Regions from separate parts of the Homo sapiens genome. Here regions 2 and 3 are each linked to region 1. Evidence: promoter capture Hi-C in 16 types of primary human blood cells and fetal thymus (Javierre and others, 2016). All regions are on one chromosome and are shown on one strand. Each heading gives the region's core, a stretch centred on a gene start or on the middle of the fragment in contact. The rest is flanking DNA. Distances are from core to core; before and after follow the strand shown. Region 1 holds the start of FITM2 (fat storage inducing transmembrane protein 2). Region 2 has its middle 33 kb from the start of YWHAB. Region 3 has its middle 17 kb from the start of YWHAB.

Evidence for each region. The method cuts DNA at HindIII sites, captures the fragments that hold promoters and counts their contacts. A CHiCAGO score of 5 or more calls a contact.
Region 2: a fragment that was not itself captured here is called in contact with the fragment with the promoter of FITM2 in region 1 in 1 of 17 cell types (naive B cells); the score reaches 5.6 in naive B cells.
Region 3: a fragment that was not itself captured here is called in contact with the fragment with the promoter of FITM2 in region 1 in 1 of 17 cell types (naive B cells); the score reaches 5.7 in naive B cells.

Annotation. Positions count from the first base shown.
Region 1 is chr20:44,308,818-44,313,468 of GRCh38, forward strand. It overlaps FITM2 (fat storage inducing transmembrane protein 2), which reads right to left and starts at 2,385. Exons shown (of 2, transcript NM_001080472.4): 1 at 2,159-2,385. The coding sequence starts at 2,331. RefSeq lists enhancers at 1,232-1,961, 1,908-1,997, 1,962-2,691, 2,288-2,437. The HindIII fragment of the contact is 15,971 bases long and covers 1-4,651 here.
Region 2 is chr20:44,850,486-44,854,833 of GRCh38, forward strand. No RefSeq gene overlaps it. Among named protein-coding and RNA genes, the nearest start is that of YWHAB, 33 kb to the right of the region's middle. The HindIII fragment of the contact is 711 bases long and covers 1,355-2,065 here.
Region 3 is chr20:44,866,581-44,870,851 of GRCh38, forward strand. No RefSeq gene overlaps it. Among named protein-coding and RNA genes, the nearest start is that of YWHAB, 17 kb to the right of the region's middle. The HindIII fragment of the contact is 2,555 bases long and covers 465-3,019 here.

The DNA.
Region 1 (4,651 bases), core at 1,135-3,634:
TAGATATGAGCCATGCACCTGGCCTGGTTCTTTCCTAATGGCAGAAACAGTCTTACAACAATGAGCTTTACTTTAAGCCAAAGACACGGGTTCAACTCTTGACTCTGACTTAACTTATTATACCTCCTACCTCTCCAGCCCTCAGTTTCTTCAGCTATTAAACAGAGCTGGGGGGACCAAATGATTTTTTTTTTTTTGAGACAGAGTTTTCACTCTTATTACCCAGGAGTGCAGTGGCACGATCTCGGCTCACTGCAACCTCCGCCTCCCGGGTTCAAGCAATTCTCCTGCCTCAGCCTCCGGAGTAGCTGGGATTACAGGCACCTACCACCACACTCGGCTAATTTTTGTATTTTTATTTTTATTTATTTATTTATTTTGAGACAAAGTCTCACTCTGCCATCCAGGCTGGAATGCAGTGGCATGATCTCAGCTCACTGCAACCTCCGCCTCCCAGGTTCAAGTGATTCTCTTGCCTCAGCCTCCTCAGTAGTTGGAATTACAGGCACGCACCACCACGCCAGGCTAATTTTTGTATTTTTAGTAGAGATGGGGTTTCACCACGTTGGCCAGGCTGGTCTTGAACTCCTGACCTCAAGTGATCCACCTGCCTTGGCCTCCCAAAGTGCCTGGATTACAGGTGTGAGCCACTGCGCCCAGCCTGGTTCTTTCCTAACGGCAGAAACAGTCTTGCAACAAGGTCTTACTTTAAGCCAAAAGACCGGGGTTCAAATCTTCACTCTTACGGGTTCAAATCTTCACTCTTACTTAACTTACTATACCTCCTACCTTTCCAGGCCTCAGTTTCTTCAGCTATCAAACAGAGCTGAGAGGACCAAATGATTTTTAAGGTCCCTTCTATATCCCAGGATTCACTAGTTCCCTCTCATTAATCAGCACAGAGGCTTGGAACAAAACTCCAGGATCCATGACTACCTTCAAACAACAGGGGTGTGTTGTCAGCCAGGCCACTTGGCTCCCAGCTCACCTAGGCCAGAGGAAGCAGCAGCTGCCTTGTCCGCCTCCCCAGCGTTCACGAAAGGTGGCTGACCTAAACCCAGGACAGAGACTTGGGGCCACTACCACTCTCATGATCTATTCTTAGCCCAGCCTCTCAGGGTGGGTGAGGAAGGAAGGTGGACCAAGGACAGAAGGACTTTTTTCTAGGTTCCAATGGATTCTCAGGCACCACCCCCAGGCCTGTCACTAAAATCTTCACTGGGACTGATAAGGAAGATCTTGCCAGAGCCAAGACCCGTCAGGCATTTGAGGAAGCTGCCTGTGAAAGGAACCAGGGTTTTAAGCAGATAACCAAAGTTGGGCTGACTTTCAGGACACGCCAGAGACACTTATTCTGGAAAACACTTAGGCTCACATCAAGGGAGCAGTTTTATCTTTCAGAGTTTCCCTTTATGACCGCAACAGAGTTTTTGTGCAATAAACTTACTAACCGGGAGTTTTGAAAAAAGCAAGTAAGCAAGCAAAGGAGTGGATGGGTGGAGTTAAGGAGATGTCTCAAAGCGCCCAGCTGGGATTGCTTTTCTGGGCCACTGCCATGCATTCTGAGTGGCTGAGATGATCCAAGGAGATCCAGGGGAAAGGGCACAGACTAGGGGGTTCCAGCCCTCTGTGAGTATCTCACAGGCGGGGGCTCTGCCTGTCACAGGCTGGGGCGAGGCTCTTCCACAGGTCGTAAAGGGATTCTGTCACGCGCTGGAGGGATCTGATCTGACGCAGGGTGGGGTCTGCGCGGGGTCTGCCACAGGCAGGCAGGACAGAGGTGAGATGGCATCTCCCAAACAGGGCAGGGGTCAGCTCCTAACTCCAAGGGGAGGCGGGGGAGTGGTGACAGGGGCTGGTTCATCCCCACCCCATTCCACACCCCTACATATACAGAGACACACACGACCCCGCTTGTCACCACCTGCCCAGTCAAGCTCATGCTGCCCAAAGTGGGTCTGCAAACACTAACTGCTAGTGACACCAGCTACCCCGGGGCCTCCCAGGCGTGACACGCGTGCAGATGCTGCTGTCACGGCTAGGAGGAGGACCTCCCCTCCAATGACTCGTCCACCACGGCAGCTAGCACCGGCTTCTCTGGGCGAGGCGACAGCGGGCCGGCTCGGGCGGGGACAGCGGAGGACCGGGGTGCACTCACACGTTGAGGACGTTGCGCTTGTTGCTGAGGTAGCTCTCGGGCAACGGGGACAACTCCTTGAGGAGGGAGCCCGCCAGCATGGAGGCCACCAGGGCCCAGGGCAGGTAGCGCCGCACGGCCGCCCGCACCAGCGTCCCCCGCAACAACCACTCGCAGCGCTCCAGATGCTCCATGCCGGATCTCGTCAGCCACCGTCCTCCTCTCCGTGCCCTCTCGGCCACCGTATCGCCCTTCGCCCGGACCTGCGCCTCCACCTCCCTTCGAGCGCATGCGCACTGCCCGCGAGTCCCACAGCTTGAGGCGTGCTTGGGCTCCGGAGCCCGCGCGCTCCCCCTCGTGGCCGCTGCTGCCTCTGGCGCGTGACGGTCCCCGAACTCGCTCGTCTCCTCTGCGCTCTCCTGGCCGCCTCCTCTCCCCGAGCCTCCGCGTCTTGCTCTGGTCTGGGAAAAAGCGCTTGTGAAAGTATTTGCTGGAGGCTGGAAGAGGATAAATGTAGCCCTGGAGAATTGGAGCAGTAGTCACAGCATCATTTGATCTTTCTTGGAGCCTCGGAGACACCTCTGCCATCTGAGTCTTAGTTTTCTCATCTGTAAAATGCGAGAGACAAGAGGAGATCAACCTTTCCCAAAAGCTAGTTTATGAGCTCAGGGGTTCATTACGTTGGCACACGTAGAGGGACATGAGATGAAGTTTCCTTAGGAATAATTATTGTATTTATTTATTTATTAGTTAGTTGGGGGGGGGTCCCTCTCTGTCGCCCAGGCTGGAGTGCAATGGCACCGTCGCAGCTCACCGCAACCTCAAATTTCTGGTCTCAAGCAATACTCCCACCTCAGCCTCCCGAGTAGCTGGGACCACAGGCGGGCACCACCACACCTGGCTAATTTTTTTTATTTTTATTTCTGTAGAGACAGGGTTTTGCTTCGTTGTCGAGGCTGGTCTCAAACTCCTGGGCTCAAGCGATCCTCCTGCCTCGGCTTCCTAAAATGCTGCAATTACAAGTGTGAGCCACCACGCTCTGCAGTTATTAAATTAATTAATTAATATAATTAATTTATTTAGAGACATAGTCTCGCTCTGTTGCCCAGGCTGGAATGCAGTGGCGCGATCTCAGCTCACTGCAGGCCTCTGCCTCCCAGGTTCAAGCGATTCTCCTGCCTCAGCCTCCCGAGTAGCTGGGATTACAGGCACGCACCACCACACCCAGCTAATTTTTGTATTTTTAGTAGAGATGGGGTTTCACCATGTCGGCCAGGCTGACCAACTCCTGTCCTCAAGTGATCTGACCTCTCCAAATCTTAACCTCAAGTGATCTGCCAGCCTTCACCTCCCAAAGTGCTGAGATTACAGGAGTGAGCCATCTCACCTGGTGCAATTATTACATTTAAAGTTTAAATTTCTAAATTTATTTTCACCTGGGCAACACAGTGAGACTCAGTATCTATAAGAAATAATTTTAAAAACTAGCTGACTTGGTGGCTCAGGCCTGTGGTCCCAGCTACTCAGGAGGCTGAGGTGGGAGGATTGCTTGAGCCCAGGAATTTGAGGTTGCAGTGAGCTGTGATGGTCCCATTGCACTCCAGCCTGGGCCACGGAGCGAGACCGTCTTAAAAAGCACACAAAGAAACACAAAACAGCTATCTATGCCTGTTGGATGAAAATGCTGGATGCTGGGGGTTAATGGGGAGATCACATGAAGTTGTTGGAGACTCAGTTGCTCAGTTTATCACAAAACTAACCCCTCACCCCTGGTTAGGGCTGGGTGTCTATTTCAGTTCCCAACCTTGGACTCATTCCCTTACCCCAATGTTAGTTTCCTGTGGCAGCTCTAATAAATTACTATAAACTCAGTTTATTTTTATTCCTTTTTTTTTCTTTAGTTTTAAATAGAGATGGGGTCTCACTATGTTGCCCAGGTTGATCTCGAACGCCTGGGCTCCAGTGATCCTCCTGCCTCGGCCTCCCAAAGTGCTAGGATTACAGGTGCGAGCCACCGTGCCCAACCCTAAACTTGTTTTAAACAACAGAAGTTTATTCCAAAAGCCACAAACCCAGCCAATACACACATATATAGTCATATCAAGAGATGGGCATTTTAGGCCAGACGTGGTGGCTCACGCCTGTAATCCCAGCACTTTGGGAGGCCAAGCTATTTTGATCTTGGCTCACTGTAACCTCTGCCTCCCGGGTTCAAGGTAGTCTCCTGCCTCACCCTCCCAAGCAGCTGGGACTACAGGCACATGCCACCACACCTGGCTAATTTTTTTGTATTTTTAGACAGGGTTTCGCCATGTTGACCAGGCTGGTCTCCAACTCCTAGCCTCAAGTGATCTTCCTGCCTCTGCCTCTCAAAGTGCTGGGATTACAGGCGTGAGCCACCACACCCGGCCCAAAGAAAAATTTCTATCGAAATATTCATCATCACTAGCTGCCCAAAATAATTTTGTGTCTCTATACCAAGGACAGCTACCACACTGGGAAATGTTAGCCTGA
Region 2 (4,348 bases), core at 460-2,959, 540 kb after region 1:
GGGGAATGAGGGAGCCTTCTGGAATGCTGGGAATGTTCTATATTTTAATCTGGTGGCGGTTTCACAGGTATATGCATGTGTGCTATTTCATTCTGCCATGCTGGTAAGATATGGCACTTTATCTTATAACTGTATGTAAGCTATTTCTTATTTGTTTCTTAAAAAAGAAAGGAATCATGAGGGAAATGCAAATCAAACCACAATGAGATATCATCTCACACTCTTTAGGATGGCTACTATCAATAAGTCAAAAAAAAAAAAAAAACAAGTGTTGTATAGGATGTAGAGAAATTGGATCCCTTGGGCACTGTTTTTGGGAATGTGAAATGATGCGGCCACTATGGAAAACAGAATGGCAGTTCCTCAAAAAATTAAAAAAACAGAATTACCATATGATGCAGCCATTTGCCTTCTGGGTATATATTCAAAAGAATTGAAAACAGAGTTTTAAAGAGATATGTGTACACCAATGTTCACAGCAACATTATTCATAATAGCCAAAAGTGGAAGCAACCCAAGTGTCCATTGATGAATAAATGAATGAACAGAGTGTGATACATGCATACAATGGAACATTCTTCAGTCTTAGAAAGGAAGCAAATTCTGACCCATGCTACAACGTAAGTGAACCTTGCAGACACAATGCTAAGTGAAATAAGCCAGTCACAAAAAGACAAATACCTTATGATTCCACTTATATGAGGTACCTAGATTAGTCAAATTCACAGAGGCAGAAAGTATAATGGGGGTTGCCAGGGGCTGGGTGGAGGGAAGAATGGGGAGATATTGTCAAATAAGTACAGAGTTTCAGTTTTGCAAGACTAAAAGAGGTTTTTGGATGGATGGTGGCGATGGCACAATAGTACGAATGCAGTTAATACCACTGAACTGTACATTTGAAAATTGTTAAGATGGTAAGTTTTATGTTATGAGTATTTTACCATAATTTTTAAAAAGTAAGAAATAATATATATATAAATTTTTCCTGATTATATTACAGTTGTTCATTTTTCCTCATGTTCAGCAATATTTAATGAGAAGACACGTGGCTTTCTGAGAGATACTGCTGTAGGACTACACAGATTGTAAATACAATCTTTAAACCATAAAACTCGTAACTGTTTAACTAGTTGTTATAAAACATGTTTGTTAAAGAAAACTTTACATGGCCACTTGAGTTGTAGAAAGCAGAGGCGACCAGTTTTGTGTGGTTATTTTTGCCCAATAAAGAAGGTGTAAATTTTTCACTGGGCAGAGAGCATTGCTGAATACACAGTCGTGCTGGGGCCTCCCAGTGGTTGGTACTATAGAGATGGAAGTTGCCTTTGATAGATCTGATCCAGCCACCATGGCAAGCTTTGTTTCTCCCACACCTGCAAGATTGAGAGCTAGGCTTGAGCAAATATGCTGCATTAAGGAAATCCAACCTAAGAGGTATCTTGGAAGACAGACAGCTTCAGCAGGCCACACTTCTCCACCCTGGTGAACTTCTATATCTGCACTAAATATGTATTACTTCTTTAATGAAAAAAAAACTCATACTTTTAATCAATCACTTACATAGTGCTTGCTATGTACCATTCACTGTCCTTAGTATTTTATAAACATTAATTTACTGGCCAAGCATGGTGGCTCACACCTGTAATCCCAGCACTTTGGGAGGCCAAGGAAGGTGGATTACATGAGGTCAGGAATTTGAGACCAGCCTAGCCAACATGGTGAAACCCCGTCGCTACTAAAAATAGAAAAAAAATTAGCTGGGCCTGGTGGTGTGTGCCTGTAATCCCAGCTACTTGGGAGGCTGAAGCAGGAGAATCGCTTGAACCCAGGACACAGAGGTTGCAGTGGGCCGAGATCACACCACTGCACTCCAGTCTGGATGACAGTACGGGACTCCGTCTCAAAAACAAACAAACAAAAAAACATTAATTTATTTAACTCTCATAACAACCCTAAGAAGGTACCTAATATTAGTACCTAAGAGGTAGGCACTAATAGTGCCATCATCATATTCTACAAATGAGGAGGTTGAAGCACAGAGTGGTCAAGTAACCAGCCCAAGGAAAGCTTACAAATGGCAGAGCTGGGACTTGAACCCAGGCAGTTAGCACCTGTGCCTGTGCTGTCAACAATTATGCTGCCTCCAAATCAGGCAGAATGAATTTCTTGGTGCTGGGGGGTATCCAAGTTCATTGGTGCTGCTATAGCAAAATAGCTGAGACTGGGTAATTTATAAAGAAGATAAATTTATTTTTTCACAGTTCTGGAGGCTGGGAAGTCCAAGATCAAGATACAGATACTAGCAAATTTGGCGTCTGGTAAGGGCTGCTCTCTGCTCTCATGATGGCACCTTCTTTGTTGCTTGAGATGGACTCTCACCCTGTTGCCCAGGCTGGAGTGCAGTGGCATGATCTCAGCTCACTGCAACCTCCGCCTCCCAGGTTCAAGTGATTCTCATGACATAGCCTCTCAAGTAGCTAGGATTACAGGCAGAGGCCATCACACTTGGCTAATTTTTGTATTTTTAGTAGAGATGGGGCTTTGCTGTGTTGGCCAGACTGGTCTCGAACTCCTGGCCTCAAGTGATCCGCCCGCTTCACCCTCCCAAAGTGCTGGGATTACAGGTGTGAGCCACTGCGTCCGGCCTCATGATAGCATCTTCTTGCTGCATCTTCACATGGTGGAAGGGGGCAAAAAAGGATGAATACTGTGTCCTCACATGACAGAAGAGATGGAAGGTCTAAAAGGGCCTAGCTAGTTCTTTTATAAGGGCACTAAGCCCATTCATGAAGGTAGATCCCTTATGTCTTAATCACCTCCTAAAGTCCCCACCTCTTCATACTATCACAACAGGTCTTAGGTTCCAACTTATAAATTCAGGGGAGACACACACACTCAAACCATAGCAAGGAGAGAACACCTTCATGTTTCCTTTCTCCTTTTTCTCTCTCCTTTCCCCACCCTTCTTGGTCCTTAATTTCAAGGAGGGGAAATTGTGCAATTTTGATCTAGATTGGTCAAATCCTACATTATAAAGGATTTTTTTCCCGGGACGGTTTTGAAGAGAGTTAACAGGTCTATAGCAGTGTTTTTCAGACTTTCAGATCTTCCAGATGTATAATTTTTTTCTCAAAAGTGTTGGGCAAAGACTTCTGCTGTCAGTAATGATAGAGTAATAGAGACCAGATTGATCCTCCCTTAAACAATTAGGAAAACAGGCAAAATGATATGAAACAATGCTTTCCATATACTGGACAACAGACAATGAAGACTATGATTCCTGAGAGAAAAAAAATGAGATGAGCCTTAAGATCACCCCTTCCTGTGTGGAGACAGTTTTCACAATGCAGCTCATAGAAGGGAAACTCAAGCAGAATGGCCAAAGTGGCTAGAATTTACAGGTAAGAGTGTTGAAGAGGAGTCCAGAGTTCTCAACCTCAGAGATCTCCAAGGGGCCCTCTTGAGTCTTTGGCTGTGTACTGATTTACACATATGTGAGAAAAAGTACCCAAGGCCGGGGGGGAATCTGCTGGAAAGCAGTAGGCTAAAGAGCTCATATAAGGTGAGAAATTGTTTGTGATTCCAACAGTTAAAATGCAGACACTTCTTAATATATCGGGCATCAAGCAGAGCCCTCATAAGGAGACTCATCTCAGTCATGAGGCTAAATTAGCCGTAGACCAAAGGCTATTCAGAACCTGCCTCTGAAAATCTTAAAAGCAAGGCTAAAATGAACCTAGATGATCCCATGTAATTTAACAGTGTCCCAAAACAAAGTTCAATACTACTTAAAGAAACACAATAAAATCCAGCACCCAATTACAAAATTTACAATATCCAGTGCTATTCAATGAACTGTTCTCCCTCAAATTCATATGTTGAAACCAATGTGATGGTAATTGGAGATGGTGTCTTTGGGGGGTAACTGAGTCATGAGGGCAGAGACCTCATGACAGGATTAGTGCCCTTACAAGAAGAAGCACGAGATCTTTCTTTCTCTCTCTCTCTCTCTACCCCCAACCCCCTGCCCGCCACCATGTGAGGATACAACAGAAAGGCAGCCACCCGCAAGACAGGAAGAAGGCTCTCACCAGAACCTAACCATTCTGGCACCTGATTGTAGACTTCCCAGGCTCTAAAATGGTGAGAAATAAATGTCTGTTCTTTAAGCTATATGCAGTATCACATTTTGTCATAGCAGCCTGAGCTGACTCAAACATTTGCATTCTTGGCCGGGCATGATGGCTCAAGCCTGTAATTCCAGCACTTTGGGAGGCTGAGGCAGGCGGATCACTTGAGACCAGGAGTTTGAGACCAGCCTGGCCAACATAGTGAAATCTCCTCTCTA
Region 3 (4,271 bases), core at 492-2,991, 560 kb after region 1:
CCATAGAAGGAGCCCTTCTTGACACCCCTAAAATTGCACTGCTGAGGTGATTGTCACGTGAGCTCACCCCGTCACAGTTCTGGAGTGAGCGTGAGAAGGCTGAGGGTGAGCACCTCTGTCCCCACCAAAGAAATGGATCGCCAGGCCCTGGTCTCGTGGTTTCCAGGTTTGCTTGCAGGCCTGCCTGCGAAGCTCAAGGAACTGCAGAGTCACTTCTGTCTGGAGCTCCTGAATGCAGTCCAGCTAACCTTCCCTACCCGGAAGCCCTTCAACATCTTTTCTCCATTCCCTTTACGGGTTTTATTCTTCTTTTGCCTGCTCAGCAATTTTCACCAGTCCAAGGACCGAATGCTCTGCTCTCAGATCAATAGCCCTTGGGAAGTACTGCAGACAGTCTCTGAGATGCACCCTAGCTGCTCCTGCAAAGGAATTGCTTTCTTTCTGACTCAGTTTCACTTGAATTAAGCTTCTTCTGCTTTATGAAAGCAGCCTCCTTCCAGAGCACAAGTTGACATCAACCCAGAACCAGAAAGAAATCAGTGGCTGGAACTTGTCTTATTCATCTCTGGAAAGTCCAGCTCTCCAGCAGAGGCTTAGAATTCTATTTCCTTTTTTGTTTCTTAGTCATTGCGCTTGAGAAGGCATTTAAAGATGCTCTTTGGCTAGAGTAAGTGCTCAGTAAGCATTTGTTGGCGAAGGGATAAAACAGTAAAGATGGAATAATCAGCATTTGGTAAATGGTTGGTGAAGGAGAATCAAATGAGATAACACATGTGAAATTGATATGTAATCTGTGAATAGTGAAAATTGTTCCTGGCCAGGCGTAGTGGCTCACACCTGTAATCCCAGCACTTTGGGAGGCCGAGGTAGGCGGATCACTTGAGGCCAGGAGTTCAAGACCAGCCTGGCCAACATGGTGAACCCCCCCCCTATTAAAAATACAAAAATGAGCCAGGCGTGGTGGCACATGACTGTAATCCCAGCTACTTGGGGGGCTGAGGCAGGAGAATCCCTCAAACCTGGGAGACGGAGGTTGCAGTGAGCCGAGATCGTGCCATTGCACTCCAGCCTGGGCGACAGAGCGAGACTCCATCTCAAAAAAAAAGAAAAAGAAAAAGAAAAAGAAAAAGAAAACCAAAGGGACTCGTCCGCAGCGTTATCTGCTGGCGCCATCTTCCGGAAATAAGTTAGCACAACAGGTCTATTTCTGTTTCAGCGGGGCGTGAGGGCACTGGAAATGCAGGCAAGGAGGGGAAAAGAGAGAATGAATTTTAGCAAAATCTCTCCATCTCCTCTGTCCTGGATCATCTAATTACTCTACCAAGATTATCATTTTAATGTAATAGTACTACTAACATGCTAGCACTTGTTTTGAGCACCTAGTACGTACCAGATACTGTGCTCAGTGTTTTACATGTGTTATTTCATCCTCACAGTAACTGCAAGAAGTGTATATAGTAAGTCCTCACTTAACTTCTTCGATGGGTTCTTGGAAACTGCGACTTTAAGCAAAATGATGTGCAGCACGTCCTCAAGTAATGTCCTTCCATTATGATTATGAGGGAAAAAATGGTTTCATCATACATCATTTCACTTAAAGTTGCAGTTTCCAAGAAACTATCAACATTCAGTTGATATTAAAAACCCGAGGCATACAAGGTGTATAGTGGACTTATCATCTCTAGGATTACATATCTAGTTGGTGTTTGGGATAAGACTGAAACCCAGTTCTGTCTGACTTCAGAGCCTGTGGTGGGCTGTTGTGAGTCAGGTCCCGAGGAATCAGACTCCAATATGGAGATTTGAAGTCAGGAAGTCTATTGCAGAGTGCTGTCGGGATTACATCTGTGGAAAGGAAAAGTCAAACTGCAGTGCAACCTCAGCAGAGGCCTTGGCTAATGCCATGGGGAATATAGAGCTGGGATGGCAAGAGGACAGGACCTTGGAATGTCCACCTCGAACAGTCATAGGGACTCAGCTGAGAGCTGCCAGCAGCCAATGCTCCCAGCAGCTGGGGGAATAAATGCCCCATCCTGGGGATGGGGGTCTGGGTGGCACACCACAGTATGCACTGCAGCGCCCACTACCTATTCCCCATGCATTGCTCCTCAAATAAGGGAGATGGCTGGGAGGGAGACAACATCAGTGATGGGGTAGTGGAGGAGGAATTCAGAGAGTAAAAATGGTTTTGTCTGTCTTCCATCCACCTGTGACCTAGGCTATGCATGCCATCCAGCTGCAATAACCAATACATTTGGGTCATTCATGTTGATATAATGTATGGATTATTTTATGGGTTGCAAGCCATTAACAAATAAATAAAATGCAATATTCCACTGGCTGATTGGAGATGCATTCTTTGACATTCTCAAATAAGAAATGGAAGAATTGGCCAGGCACAGTGGCTCACGCCTGTAATCCTAACCCTTTGGGAGTCCAAGGCTGGGGGATCACTTGAGGTCAGGTGTTTGAAACCAGCCTGGCCAACATGATGAAACCCCATGTCTACTAAAAATACAAAAAAAAAAAAGCCAGGCGTGGTGGTGGGCGCCTGTAATCCCAGCTACTTGGGAGGCTGAGGCAGGAGAATCACTTGAACCCAGGAGTCGGAGGTTGCAGTGAGCCGAGATCATGCCACTACACTCCAGCCTGGGCGATAGAGTGAGATTCCATCTGAAAAATAAAAATAAAAATAAAATAAAAAGGAGATGGTGCCTTCTGCCCTGGGGTTAAAAAAATTAAAAAATTAAATTAAAAAGAGATGGATCTATTTGTATAATATGGAAAGACCTCTAAGACATATTTTTGCATGAAGAAATAAGATTCAGTACCCTAATAAACTATATAAAAATTATATCTATTTCTAGAGTTTTACATACACTATAAAAGGATGGAATTTTACCGACTTGCCCTATGGAAGGATTCTACATCCCCACCCCACGTAAGTCAGGCATAGCCATATGATTTGCTTTGGCCAAGGGAATTTGAGTGGAAGTGACATGTGAGACATCCAAGCAGAAGCTTTAAGAGGCTCCCCCATTCTCTCTTTTCCTTATTCCATGAGATCAGCATGTTCCAGCTGCTTCTTCCAGCTGTGTCCAGAGATACAGCTGAATTCAACCCATCACAAACATGCAATTAAGATATAAATTTTTAGGCTGGGCGCAGTGGCTCACGCCTGTAATCCCAGCACTCTGGGAGGCTGAGGCAGATGGATTGCTTGAGCTGGGGAGTTCGAGACCAGCCTGAGCAACATGGTAAAACCCTGTCTCCACAAAAACCACAAAAAATTAGCTGGGCCTTGTGGCACACATCTGTAGTCCCAGCTACTTGGGAGGCTGAGATGAGAGGATCACCTGAGCCCAGGAGGTCGAGGCTACGGTGAGCCATGATCATGCCACTGCACTACAGCCTGGGAGACAGAGTGAGACCCTGTCTCAACAAAAAAACAAACAAACAAAAGACATAAACTTTTATTAATATAAGACACTGAGACTTTGAGGATGTTGTTATTGTAGGTTATTGTAGCATAACCTAACCTACCATCACTGATAATACATGTTGCTATATATAACTGATATGTGGTTACTTCTGGGGAGGAGAAATGGCATTGGGAGGTGGCGATCATAGGGAATTTTAGTTTTTAATCTTTAATATTTTAGTTTTCTTACAATAAAAATATATCCACACATTACTATGTAATAAATATACATTATTTTAAAATGAATACAGCAGGTATTTCCCTACTTAAAATTAAATGCCAAAAAATATCTTTTTTTTTTAGACCGAGTCTCGCTCTGTTGCCCAGGCTGGAGTGCAATGGCATAATCTCGGCTCACTGCAACCTCCGCCTCCCGGGTTCAAGCCATTCTCCTGCCTCAGCCTCCTGACTAGCTGGGATTACAGGCGCTGGCCACCATGCCCAGCTAATTTTTGTATTTTTAGTAGAGACGGGGTTTCACCATGTTGGACAGGCTGATCTCAAACTCCTGACCTCAGATGATCCACCCACCTCGGCCTCCCAAAGCGCTGGGATTACAGACATGAGCCACTGAGGAGCTCTATTTCTGATTAAACCTATAGACCTCTCTGAGTTAGGATCTCAGCCCTTGTTCCATTAAAATGAAAAGCCAAAATTGGTTGCATGTATAGCAAAGACCTTGAAATATCATAGACTGCCTTGCAATTTCAACTTCTCATTCAAGCCAAACAACAGCCCTCTTTATCTTTGAAGTTTACTTTTGAGCAAAATCAAAGTGGCTAGACTCCCT